Linked DNA regions of Homo sapiens: region 1 is linked to region 2. Evidence: promoter capture Hi-C in human tissues and cell types (Jung and others, 2019). All regions are on one chromosome and are shown on one strand. The core of a region is centred on a gene start or on the middle of the fragment in contact, and the rest is flanking DNA. Distances in the headings are between cores, read along the strand shown. Region 1 overlaps PSMB2 (proteasome 20S subunit beta 2). Region 2 holds the start of KIAA0319L (KIAA0319 like).

Region 1 (6,599 bases), core at 4,034-6,533, 50 kb after region 2:
TCCAGGAAGGGAAGCAGGAAGCAGATGACTGGATTATAGGGATGGAAGAAACATTTTTCCTTCTTTTTTTGAGACGGAGTCTCACTCTGTTGCCAGGCTGGAGTACAGTGGCGCGATCTAGGCTCACTGCAACCTCTGCCTCCCGGGTTCGACCGATTCTCCTGTCTCAGCCTCCCCAGTAGCTGGGACTAGGGGTGCGTGCCACCACGCCCAGCTAATTTTTGTATTTTTAGTAGAGACGGGGTTTTACCATGTTGGTCAGGATGGTCTCGCTCTCTTGACCTCGTGATCCGCCCGCCTCGGCCTCCCAAAGTGCTGGGATTACAGGTATGAGCCACCACACCCAGCTCTGGAAGAAATATTTTTCACTACATGTTTTTGTACTGTTTGCATGTTACATTAAGTGCATGTATTATTAATTCAGGTTAATTAATTTAAAAATTTAAGTTTAAGGGCAAAAAGAACCACTACTTTAGAGAGAATGGAGATACTAGCAAGTAAAATATATGAAAGAGCTAGTTGGAAAGGAAGCCAAGCATGGAGTAGAACGTGGGGCCGTCAGCTGCTAAAGGGTACTGAGCGTTAATGGAGGGCGGAGCAGGAAGAAAAGTCAGACCTGGCAAAAAGATCATCTTCCCTCCATATCCTTTCTGAGGTAATATTAGGTAAACTGAGACCTGGACCAGAGGGCTCAATTATATCCATAGTCACCTTTATTCTGAATTAACCATTTATCAAGAGTGCGCCTGAAAAGAGTAGAAAAAAATAAAGGAGCCCATCAAAAAAAAGTTCCCTGGCAAGTGGGAGGGAGGACATGATGTTAGGAGCCCTGTTTGGGGAAGGAAATGTTATCCAGGTCATGGATGCCATTTTTGTCAATGATTCGAACACTGAAGGTTGGCAGATTCAGGATGAAGCGTTTCTGGAGCTGCAGAGAGACATGGAGGAAATCAGTCAACAAATGATTACTAAGTTCTATGTGCCAGGCTCTGTTCTAGACACTGGGGATACAAGCAAACAAAAATCCCTGCTTTTGTGGAACTGATATTCTACTGGAGGCAGTTGGCAGTAGGGCACTAGTACTCTAGTGGTAGAGGGTACCCAAACAGCAGCTGGAGGATGACTGGGAGGCAGGGAGGCTGAACTGGGAGGTGCAACTAAGAGCCTGTCTCTGGTCAGTCAGCTGACGAAAGAATGAGACAATCCAGTGTTCTGTTCCCCATAGTCTGTTACCCATCAGTCTGGTAAACACAGACGTCTCTCTTAAAATGTCTCAAGATAATAAGCTAACAAAGAGTGATTGTCCTCAGAACGAAGCAGAGGCCAGGAGCTGTGGCTCAGGCCTGTAATTGGGAGGTTGAGGTGGAAGAATATCTTGAGCCCAGGAGTTCAAGACCAGCCTAGGTAACATAGCAAGACCCCATCTCTTAAAAATAAAATGAGCTGGGCATGGTGGTGCCTGTCTGTAGTCTCAGCTACTTGGGAGGATCGCTTGAGTTCCAGAAATCCAGGCTGCAGTGAGCTATGATGGTGCCACTGCACTCCACTCCAGCCTGGGCAACAAAGTGAGATCCATCTCTTAAAAAAAAAAAAAAAAAGCGGGGGGTGGGGTGGGCACTGTGGACTGAAAACAAAAGGTTTGTGTAAGAAGCAAACTGACATTACTCCCAACGCTCCTGCTCTTATCTTCCTACTCTCTTACTAAACCACGAGGTCAAGTTCATCCTTAAGCCACAGGAACAGTAAAAGAATGAAAAAAACTAATGTGGCTGGTTTTTGACCTCCCCATTCCCCCATTCTCCATCTATACCCAAAGCCTTAGACTCTAAGGAGTAGTGTTAGAAAGGGTGTGTTCTGTAATCCTGTCCTCGCAAGCCAAAGTCTACTCTCCCCTTCTGCCCAAAGCTTCCTAGTTGCTTTCTATGGTCCTCCTGAATTCTTAGGGGAGGCTTTTTCTCACAGATTACAAAGACTCGAGCACTATTAAGGGAGCAGGCAGTATGGCAATTACAGGTGGCACAAGAACAGAGCAGGTATAAAGTCTAGGGCAGGGATGGGCGTGGTGGCTCATGCCTGTAATCCCAGCACTTTGGGAGGCCGAGGCAGGCGGATCACCTGAGGTCAGGAGTTCAAGACCAGCCTGGCCAACATGGTGAAACCCTGTCTCTACTAAAAATACAAAAAACTAGCCGGGCATGGTGGTGGGCAACTGTAATCCCAGCTACTCGGGAGGCTAAGGCAAGAGAATTGCTTGAACCCAGAGGCGGAGGTTGCAGTGAGCTGAAATCGTGCCACTGCACTCCAGCCTGGGCAACAAAAGCGAAACTCCGTCTCAAATAAAAAAATAAAGTCTAGAGCAGAAGTTCTTCAAGTACAGCCTCAGTTACCACCTGTAGGAAAATCACCTGGGACTGCCAGTTAAAGCAGAGCTTCCCAGTTTGTACCTCAGAACAGTGGACTCAGAATTGAGGGTTGGGGCAGAGATGGCAATCTGTTTAACAGGTTTCCCAGGTGATACTTACACACACTAAAATTTGAGAACCACTGGTTTGGATAAACCAGAAAGAATTAAATTATAAAACTGACATTGAGGAGGTAATCTGTGAGAGAAAAGTGAGCTTGCTATCCACACCAAACTCTATCCCTGGTAGCAACTTCACATCTGGTTAGTGGGTATGTATTACACCTTCTGGCAAAAATCTGAAAAAATATAACTGAGGAACAGGAACAACACTGGCAAACAGAGAGACAAACATTCCTTTCAGGATCCTATGGGAACTACTCACCTCCTCCAGACATTTCCTAAGGAGTTCCACTGCCCTCTCACGTGAGATAGCTGAAAGAGAACACAGAGACCAAATACTTCCGGTGCTGTCATTATATCCAACTCTCAGAAGCTTTTGATTAAGTTCCAAATCTGGCTTCTTCAGGTCTCAGTGCCACACAAACGTAAAAGGCAAAAAATGCTTTGCCTTCTAGCCTGCAATCAACTTACTCCACATGCAGCTGGGGGGGCCCCAGACCCAGTGCTCCAGCAGCTATAAGCCATTGCAAATTGATTTGCTACAGTAAAGGGTGAGCATGAAGGAATTCTGCCTCCCCTGGCCAGGGCCCACCTCTGAAGAAGTCCAGCAGCCTGTCTCTCTTTATCATAACCCACCCCTTTCACTCCCCCTTAGTCCAGGGTTTGAATCAATTCCATCTGCCCCAGTCAGCTGCAAATCAGGGAAAGAGACGATGGGGTCAGAATTTCAGCCTTGTTTTCCCAGCTGGGTCTCTGTTTAACAATGGGAAGAGAATTCATAGGATGGGGCTGAGACTCTCCCCAAATAGGAGCCAAAGGAACTGTCTGTGGGCGTGGCAAACTGGGACGACATGTTATGCACTCAGGCTTCAGGGGTGGCTAGTAGTTATTTTGGTGGGCAAATCAGCTGTATTACTGACAGATGCCAAATCAAGAAAGTCACTGGGAGGCCAGGCTAATTCTTTTCAGGATGTGGCCTGGAGCTCTAGCGTGGCTAAGGTTGAGCGAGAGGGCAGCACCAAAAAAGAATGAACATGCCAGATTCTTACGATACTGACAGTGAAGAATGGAATGTAAGGAGAGAAGTGGTTATCTGTGCTTCATCTATAGTCTGTAAAAGCTAAGAATTCCAAAGTACCCACTGCCCACAGAGGCTAAAGTCGAGGTTAGGACTGGGGTCAGAAGATGGAACTTAGCACAAAAGCATCCCTGTGTCTAGGAAGTCCTAACCAGAGCACTTAGGCAAGGGGAGGAAATAGAGTACCCCAATTGGAAAGCAGGAAGTCAAATGTCCCTATTTGCAGATGACATGATCTTCTATATAGAAAAACCTAAAGACCCCACCAGAAAACTCTCACATCTGATAAATGAATTCCATAAAGTTGCAGGATACAAAATTAATATACAAAAATCAGTATTTCTATACACAAACTAGCTGAAAAAGAAATCAAGAAGGCAATCCCATTTACAATAGACACAAAAATCAAAGAAAATAAAATACCTAGGAATAAATTTAACCAAGGAGATGAAAGACCTCTATAACGAAAACTATAAAACACTGATGAAATAAGCTGAAGAGGATACAAGCGAATGGAAATACATCTCATGCTCATGGATCAGAAGAATTAATATTATGAAGATGACAACACTACCCAAAGAAATTTATATATTCAATGCAATCCCTATCAAAATGCCAATGACATGCCTCACAGAATTATGGAAAAAAATCCTAAGATTTGTAAGGAACCACAAAAGACTCTGAATAGCTAAAGCAATCCTGAACAAAAAGAACAAATCTGGTAGTTGATACCACTACCAGACTTCAAAATATATCACAAAGTTGTAGTAACCAAAACAGTATGCTACTGGCATAAAAATAGACACATAGACCAATTAAACAGAATAGAGAAATTAAGAAATTAAGCCACATATCTACATTTGACTTTTGATGAAGGTACCAAGAACACTCATTGGGGAAAGGACAGTCTGTCTCTTCAATAAATGGTGCTAGAAAAACTGGATATCCATACACAGAAGAATGAAACCAGACCCTCACCTCTTACCCTATACAAAATTCAACTCAAAATGGATCAAAGACCTCAATTTAAGACCAGAAACTAGAAGAAAACACAGGGAAAAAGCCTCAGGACACTGATCTGGAAAAAGATTTTATGAATAATCTCATGAACACAGGCAACAAAAGCAAAAATAAACAAACAGGATTACATCAAACTAAAATGCTTCTGCACAGCAAAGGAAACAAGAGTGAAAAGGCAACCTACAGAATGGGAGAAAATACATGCAAACTACTCATCCAACAGGGAGTTAATATCCAGAAAATATAAGGAACCGAAATATCTCAATAGAGAACAAAAATTCATTAAAAAATGGGCATATCATCTCAACAGACATTTCAAAAGACATACAAATGGCCAACAAATATATGGAAAAAATTCTCAACATCACTAATCATCACAGAAATGCAAATCAAAACCACAATGAGGTAACACCTCATCCCAGTTAGGAATAGCTATTATCAAAAAGACAAAAAACAACAAATGCTGGCAAGGATGTAGAGAAAAGGAAATTCTTTATACACTGTTGGTAGGAATGCAAACTAGTATAGCCACTAGGGAGGACAGTATGGCGGTCCCTCAAAAAACTACAAATAGAACTACCATATGATCTGGCAATCCCACTACTGGGAATTTATCCAAAAGAAAGGAAATCATTATATTGGATGAAATCATTATATCACTGGGGAAATATTGCACCCCAGTGTTTACTGCAACACTATTCACAATAGCCAAGATATGGAACCAACCTAGGTGTCCGAGAACAGATCAATGGATAAAGAAAATGTGGTATATATACACCATGAAATACTATTCATCCATAAAAAAGGAAATACTGTCATTCAACATGAATGGAACTGGACGGTATTCTGCTAAGTGAAATAAGCCAAGAACAAAGTTAAAACACTGCACGTTCTCACTCATATGTAGAAGCTAAAAAAGCTGATCTCATAGAAGTAAAAAGTAGAATAGAGGATACTAGAGGCTGAGAAATCCTCTGTAAGGGATGGGGGACATTTGTTAAAAGATACGAAATTGGCAGGACACGGTGGCTCACGCCTGTAATCCCAACACTTTGGGAGGGCAAGGCGGGTGGATCACTTGAAGTCAGGAGTTCTGGACCAGCCTGGCCAACATGGTGAAACCCCATCTCTACAAAAAATACAAAAACTAGCCAGGCGTGGTGGCACACGCCTGTAATCCCATCTACTTGGGAGGCTGAGGCACGAGAATTGCTTGAACCTGGGAGGCGGAGGTTGCTGTGAGCCGAGATCACTCCACTGCACTCCAGCCTGGGCGACAGAGGGAGACTCTGCCTCAAAAAAAAAAAAAAGATAGAAAATTATGGATAGACAGAGGAATAAGTTCTATTGTTCTATACCACTGTAAAATTACTATGGCTAACAATATATAGTTTCAAATAGCTAGAAGGAGGATACTAAATGTTCCCAACACAAAATGATAAATGTTTGAGATGATCAATATACTAACTACCATGATCTGTTTACATTACATGTATTGAAACATCATGATGTACTCTATGAATATATGTACAATTATTATTTGTCAATTAAAAAATAAAATTTTAAAAAAGCATCCCTGTATCTGAAGTTTTGCCAAACTGACGCTTTACGGACAAGTAGAGCGACGGCTTTTTCTTTCAAGAGGAGGCAGCCATTAGGTGACAACCAAGGGAAGGCTCAGATTTGTAGCCTTAGAAAGCTTTGATGTTTAAGCAAAGAAACCTTCAGTTGTCATGCTGGGGACCTGTTCATCCTTGCAAGTTCCAAACAAATATACAGCTACTTGCTTTACCCACTCATTCTTTACTGAGATGCCAAAAATCTAGGCAAAGCAAAATAAGTGAAAAAACTTGAACTCTTAGAAATGAAGGATTTTAGAACCCAATAAAAATGTTTTATTCACTGTGACATCTATTCCAATCCTCCTTCAAAACAAAACCCAGCTCTAGAGATATGTACTATCTCATTTTGAATGGC
Region 2 (6,632 bases), core at 84-2,583:
ATCCGAATAGTTTGTTACTGAATCAAAGGGTAACAACCCAGGGAGAGAACACACACCCCCACAATACTTGACAAATGAAAATCTAGAGAAGCTCACAATAGTTCTGGCATTTAGGGCGTTACAAGTACACCCAAAATAAAAGCACTCTCTGTTGCAGCAGCTGTTCAGACAGAGCAGGGGGTAATGTTTACTTAATACTTCAGGTTGATGGGGGATGTATCACAGTTCAGTCTGTCAACTACATACGTGGAACTCCATTTATGTACACAGCGATAAGATATGTTTGAACAACGATGGAGCACGTCTGAAACAATCTATTCAGTTGGTATGAGTAATCGAGAATAAAGCTCTTTTTTAAAAAGTCTCAGATATTTGGGAAAGTTACAGAACAGACTGCCATGAATAGCTTTGCTTATATTTGCAGACACTGTTTTCCAAATAGCTGGAAAAATGAACAGATTGTTCTGGGAGGTCGTCTTTCCAATTTGTTCCTAGTTTTCAGTCTGTTAATCACAGGAGAGAGCACAAGGAGAGTCAGCTAATGCTCTTCACTAACTGCAACTACTGTCAGTTGGACACAACCACTATGAGACCAGAAGCCAAAGAGTTCCTGGAATCCCGCCAGAGGTTATCAATTTTGACTTCCTTCATTTCACCTTTGTGCTCACTGCAGCCACTACAGGACCCTCTGTGGGGCATAATTTTCAAAATCGTGGATGAGGCAGGTTTCACATTATAATGGACACATCGTGCTCAACCCCATCCCCTCTTCATTCTGCACCAACTTTCTATCTCGGTGGAGAGACCAAACATCAGAGACAGCAACTAAAGACTAGGCTGCAGAGGTCGAAGGTGGAAGAAGGACGGCAGCGCCCCGAACCCCGGCTGTCTGCCTGGCTCTCAGGGGATGGAGGGAGCTGCATGACTAGGCCCAGGCCCGAGAGAAGCGGGGTTCAGCCTGGGACCCAAGCTGCGCACCTGCAAGGACAGAAGCAGCTGGCTGCCCTGGCCGAGCCAGGGGCGCCACCTCCGGACCCAACATCCGGCCAGCGCAGCCGCTGACATCGCCCGTCCCGCTTGCCCCTCCCCTGAGCCCATGGTCCTCGGCCTGGCAGCCAGCCGCCCCCGGCCACCTACCGGGGCTCAGGGCCACATAGCGGGGCCCCGGCTCTCGGCGGCCTCCGCCTCCTCCTGGTCCATGGGCTCGGGGACCCCCAACCTTCGCTCCCCTCACCCGGAGGAGGAGGAGGAAGAGGAAGAAGGTAGTGCGGGCTCCCCACCCGGACAGCTACCTCTCGCCTCAGCCTCCCTGGACAGCGACGGCGGCCGGAAACACCGCCTCCTCCCACCTCCCCGGGACCGACCCGGAAACACACTCTCCATGCTAACCAAGCCCTCCCGCCCCTCCCCCGGGAAGGGCAATGCCGGCCGCGAGACCAAGGGGGAGGAGGGGCAGTGCTGGGCGGGTAAAACTACGCACAAGCGAAGGAATCTGGGCCCCCAGCCTCTCGCCGCCCGCTCTCCAGAGGCAGTCTGCACCTTGCCTCCTTCGCTCGAGCCCCAGCCCCCAGACTCGGGCAATACCCACAAGCAAGATGGCGGCAACGGCGGCACCCCCTACTGCTTAGCACCCTGACTTGCCATTGGCCAGAGCCCGGAGTGAAGCAGCCGCGGATTCGTCAAGAGCGGTGCGGGGGTGGGGGTGGAGCTGCAGCAGCCTGGAGCCAGGAGTGGGCAACGCGGCGTGAGCAGCGGCCCGAGGCTCCCGGAGCATCGCGCTGGGAGAAGACTTCGCCGCTCGGGGCCGCAGCCTGGTGAGCTCAGCCCCCTTCGGGCCCTCCCCTGCATCCCAGCCGGGGCCTCTCCGAGCCGGCGCTGATCGATGCCGACACACCCCGGGGACCCTATCGCGACTCCATCGCGCCATATCGCGACACCATCGTGCCCTGTCGAGACTCCATTTTGTCACAGCCCTTTTCAATATATATCTTTTTTTTTTTTAATTTGCCCTGTCATCTTTGGGGGCTGTCTCCCATGTCGTGATTTTGACGTGATCTCTCCGTGACATCACCGCGCCATCGTGAAGTGTGATCTCATCGCCGCCCTGTCGTGACTTCATCAATGTCGTGTTGTGACCTGGCTGCGGCGGGACAGGTGGTGACCGCCAGGAACCCTCCTCCCCTTCTCATCTCCCCATCTCAGCAGCCCTGCTTCGATTATCCGGCTTTTGGATTCTCCGTTGTCCTGGGAACTATCCGGGACCCCCTCTTGCTTCTCCAGCCCCTGCCGGCATCCACAGGCTGGTAGCGGGACGGGGAGGGCGAGAAGAGGGAGCGCAAGGGGTTAATTCTGCTGCTGCCGCCGCCGCTGCTGCTGCTGCTGCAGCCTCTACCCGAGGGAGGGAAAGGAGAGGAGGCAAGGAGCCTGCGGGGGCGACTGAGAGCCCTGGCTGGAGGGGTGGGGTCCCCAAAGGGGCCTCCAAGCCTTCCCTGTTGAGCGTCTTGTATTCTCACTTCTGAAGCGTATCTCTGCCTCTGAAGAAGGGAGGGGAAAGGAAGCCTGGGGTGTCCTTTTCTCCCATGTCAGCCTGAGTCCGGATAATCGAACTTCACCCATGTATGTCTCCATTTCTCCCTGTCTGTCCTCACCACTCACTCCCTCTGTGTCCCTGTGGAGGGAGATAAAACCCAGCCTCCGGTGCCAGGGGGACAGCTGAGCAGTGGGGCCAGCTCCCGCCCACCCCCAGGAGACTGGTGAGGAGAGCTGTCCGGCTGAGCAGCAGCATGCATGGTCCTTCTTTCCCGCTTTCTGGAGGTGACCTTGGACCAGGGTCCCTTCTTTATCCCTAAGGATTTGCAGATCCAGCCCCTTAAAGGGGCTTCTGGGGGGAGGTCAGTCCTGAGGAGTCCACCCCTCCAGATTCTCTCCTCCCCTCCCTCTGTGCTAATCCCTCCCTCCCTCCATCCTCCACTCTCACCCCCACCCCACCCCCGTCCCTCCTCTGCAGAGGGATGCTCAGTCCCTCTTGTGTTCACAGTTGGGCAAGGCGAGCATCATGGCCTCGGATTGCGAGCCAGCTCTGAACCAGGCAGAGGGCCGAAACCCCACCCTGGAGCGCTACCTGGGAGCCCTCCGTGAGGCCAAGAATGACAGCGAGCAGTTTGCAGCCCTGCTGCTAGTAAGGAACTGGCTGAAAATTGGGAGGTGGGAAGGGCTGGGTGGTTGGGCCCCCAAGGAATGGGGTCAGTGAGTCCCCAAGGATATGTACGTAGTGCTAGCAACCCTGGAGGCACCAACGAAGGCCCAAGACCCCTACCTTTGTGCTCTTTTTTGCTCCCCCTGAGAATGGGGGCAAAGAGGAGAATGGGACTGAATAAGGCTGTGGCACTAGGGGCTGCCTGGGTCTGTTTTCTGGGGCGTCCCAGAGCAGATGGAAGCTGACTCATAGGGTAACAGCAGCAGGTAGTAACTAGTGCAGAGTACTTGAGGGCTGGGGATGGTTGTTCTGGGCCTGGAGAGAGTAGCAGGGCTGGAAGTGGCTGGGGAGGGGTCCTAGGGGAAGGCCAGGATGGCAGTAGGTAGGTTAAGGAATGGGAGCTAGTTTGGGGCTTAGCCTTTTTGGAGGAACCCAAGCTGGGGACAGCAGAGCAGAAGCTGCAGTGCTAGGAAGGGGGGGTTGTGTGTGGGGGGTGAAGGGAGGAGGGAGTACAGCCGCTGCTTGTTTGCCATGGCAACAAGGAGAAGGCTCTGGAGTCAAGGGCTCACACTGCAGCAGAGGAGGTGTTTAGGTGAAATGTAAGGGGAAATGTTTTGACAGGCGGAGCGGCGAGACACAGGAGCCATTTCCCCTGAGAAGGTGGCAGAAATGGATCAGGGACTTCTCTGGAGGGAGCAATTAAGGAAGGACTTTAAATCCTTGGGAGATCTTAAAACATTGAGTTCTAAGCCCCTTCCATCCCAGGTTGTGGGCATTTAGACATCAGGAAGAACTTCTCAACTGGCCAGGTGTTGAAATGCTCAAATGAATGGTTGAGGAAGACTAGACCTCACTTCCATGGGACAGTCACAGATGAGAGGGATCCCAGAGGTCACATTTATCTGCCTCTAAGGAGAAAAAAGGAGCTGGATGAAATGACCTCAGATGAGTCCTGTTGCATAACCTCATCTTGCTAGTCCTCAGTGCCCCAGGATGCAGGAGAGGGACAGTCTTTCCCACTTCTTCCTTTCATCCTGATGATAGCACATACCCCCTATAGGTGACCAAGGCAGTCAAAGCAGGTGACATAGATGCCAAAACTCGGCGGCGGATCTTCGATGCTGTCGGCTTCACCTTCCCCAATCGTCTCCTGACCACCAAGGAGGCGCCGGATGGCTGCCCTGACCATGTTCTGCGGGCTTTGGGTGTGGCCCTGCTGGCCTGCTTCTGCAGTGACCCTGAACTGGCCGCCCATCCCCAAGTCCTGAACAAGATTCCCATTCTTAGCACCTTCCTCACAGCCCGGGGGGACCCGGACGATGCTGCCCGCCGCTCCATGATTGATGACACCTACCAGTGCCTGACGGCTGTAGCAGGCACACCCAGAGGGCCTCGGCACCTCATTGCTGGTGGCACCGTGTCTGCCCTATGCCAGGCATACCTGGGGCACGGCTATGGCTTTGACCAGGCCCTGGCACTCCTGGTGGGGCTGCTGGCTGCTGCCGAGACACAGTGCTGGAAGGAGGCGGAGCCCGACCTGCTGGCCGTGTTGCGGGGCCTCAGTGAGGATTTCCAGAAAGCTGAGGATGCCAGCAAGTTTGAGCTCTGCCAGCTGCTGCCCCTCTTTTTGCCCCCGACAACCGTGCCCCCTGAATGCTACCGGGATCTGCAGGCCGGGCTGGCACGCATCCTGGGAAGCAAGCTGAGCTCCTGGCAGCGCAACCCTGCACTGAAGCTGGCAGCCCGCCTGGCACACGCCTGCGGCTCCGACTGGATCCCGGCGGGCAGCTCCGGGAGCAAGTTCCTGGCCCTGCTGGTGAATCTGGCGTGCGTGGAAGTGCGGCTGGCACTGGAGGAGACGGGCACGGAGGTGAAAGAGGATGTGGTGACCGCCTGCTATGCCCTCATGGAGTTGGGGATCCAGGAATGCACTCGCTGTGAGCAGTCACTGCTTAAGGAGCCACAGAAGGTGCAGCTCGTGAGCGTCATGAAGGAGGCCATAGGGGCTGTTATCCACTACCTGCTGCAGGTGAGGGTGCAGTGACCCACAGAGGGGGCCCAGTATGGGGGGAGCCAGTGCTGGAGCTGGGAGGCAAGGGGGAGGAGAATAATGGGGAGACAGCGAAGCTGCATGTCCACACAAGCTGATACTGTAGCCAGCACTCCAGGGAGTAGTGTGCGGCCCAACCTCCCTCTCTCTCCCTCCCTCCACACAAGCACCATACCACACACCATATGTGCACTCACATCACAGTACACACACACGCACACACACACAACACAGTAACCTCCCACTCAAACGCTCCCCCCAATACACACACACTACACGCCACACACCTCTCCCCAACACATGCACACAAGATTGAAGCAGTCTGTTCTGCTCACTCCATAGCATTGTTTTATACACGCACACACCCGAACTTCTAATGGTGCAGGGAAGAGAAGCAGGGCTGCCTGGTTCCTGGCCTCTATAGAGGTCTGGCTAGATCAATTCGCCTGCCTCCCCTACATCCCCTCCTGCCTCCCCGCCTGAGAGGCCAGCTGTCCTGTCCCACAGGGATTCAGTCATGACTCTGGTCTCTTTAATGGCCTGCTCCAGCCACCGAGCTCACCAGCCATATATTCCATGCACCACGCTAAGCTCATGTCTTTTTTCTGACTTAGCACAAAAGAGAGCATCCCCTCACTCCCACCATTGGGAGCAGTTACACAGTAGCCAGGAACCTGCCCTCCCACCCCAGGTCAGAGCTGCTGTAAAGGGTGTTTAACTTAGCTTTTGACCTATGAATTTCCTTCTAGCCTTGAGACACTCCAGAGGTAGGGAGTTAGGGAGATGTGACTGGAGCCTCAGCGAGTACGGGGGCATGTCACTCAATTCACTCAGGCCCAGTTCACTCAGCAGACGTGTGTGGAGGGCCTGGCTCACTCTGTGCCAGTCCCTTGTGTGCGTCCCTACCACATGCTAGGTGCTGGGTTCATGGGACAGAATAAAGGTTGGGGCCTGCCTTTGAAAGGCTCACAGGCCAGAATTTCCTTCTAGTTGTATTATTTCTAGCTGGCTGGCCTCTGGCAAGGCAGGGAGGGTCCCTGGTCCTGCTCCATCTCAAGGGGGTCCTGTGGCAACAGGTGGGGTCAGAGAAGCAGAAGGAGCCCTTTGTGTTTGCCTCGGTGCGGATCCTGGGTGCCTGGCTGGCCGAGGAGACCTCATCCTTGCGTAAGGAGGTGTGCCAGCTGCTGCCCTTCCTCGTCCGCTATGCCAAGACCCTCTACGAGGAGGCCGAGGAGGCCAATGACCTTTCCCAGCAGGTGGCCAACCTGGCCATCTCCCCCACCACCCCAGGGCCCACCTGGCCAGGAGACGCTCTCCGGTGAGTCTGTAGTTACAGTCTGTCCAGCTAGATCATTCTACCGAAAAGCGTTAACACAAGGACACCCC

What was found. Contacts are between HindIII fragments. The study calls those that stand out against the background at their distance.
Region 1: a fragment that was not itself captured here is called in contact with the fragment with the promoter of KIAA0319L in region 2 in 1 of the 25 tissues and cell types used here (pancreas).

What each region holds. Positions count from the first base shown.
Region 1 is chr1:35,602,447-35,609,045 of GRCh38, forward strand. PSMB2 (proteasome 20S subunit beta 2) reads right to left here. Exons shown (of 6, transcript NM_002794.5): 5 at 2,787-2,836; 6 at 1-928. The coding sequence ends at 821. Among named protein-coding and RNA genes, the nearest start is that of TFAP2E-AS1, 28 kb to the left of the region's middle. The HindIII fragment of the contact is 5,765 bases long and covers 2,402-6,599 here.
Region 2 is chr1:35,556,070-35,562,701 of GRCh38, forward strand. KIAA0319L (KIAA0319 like) reads right to left here and starts at 1,334. Exons shown (of 21, transcript NM_024874.5): 1 at 1,138-1,334. It overlaps NCDN (neurochondrin), which reads left to right and starts at 1,730. Exons shown (of 7, transcript NM_014284.3): 1 at 1,730-2,154; 2 at 3,038-3,178; 3 at 4,257-5,225; 4 at 6,323-6,564. The coding sequence starts at 2,122. RefSeq lists enhancers at 764-1,491, 1,492-2,218, 1,508-1,567, 2,946-3,671, 4,128-4,762 and silencers at 1,028-1,127, 1,138-1,277, 2,349-2,558. The HindIII fragment of the contact is 15,948 bases long and covers 1-6,632 here.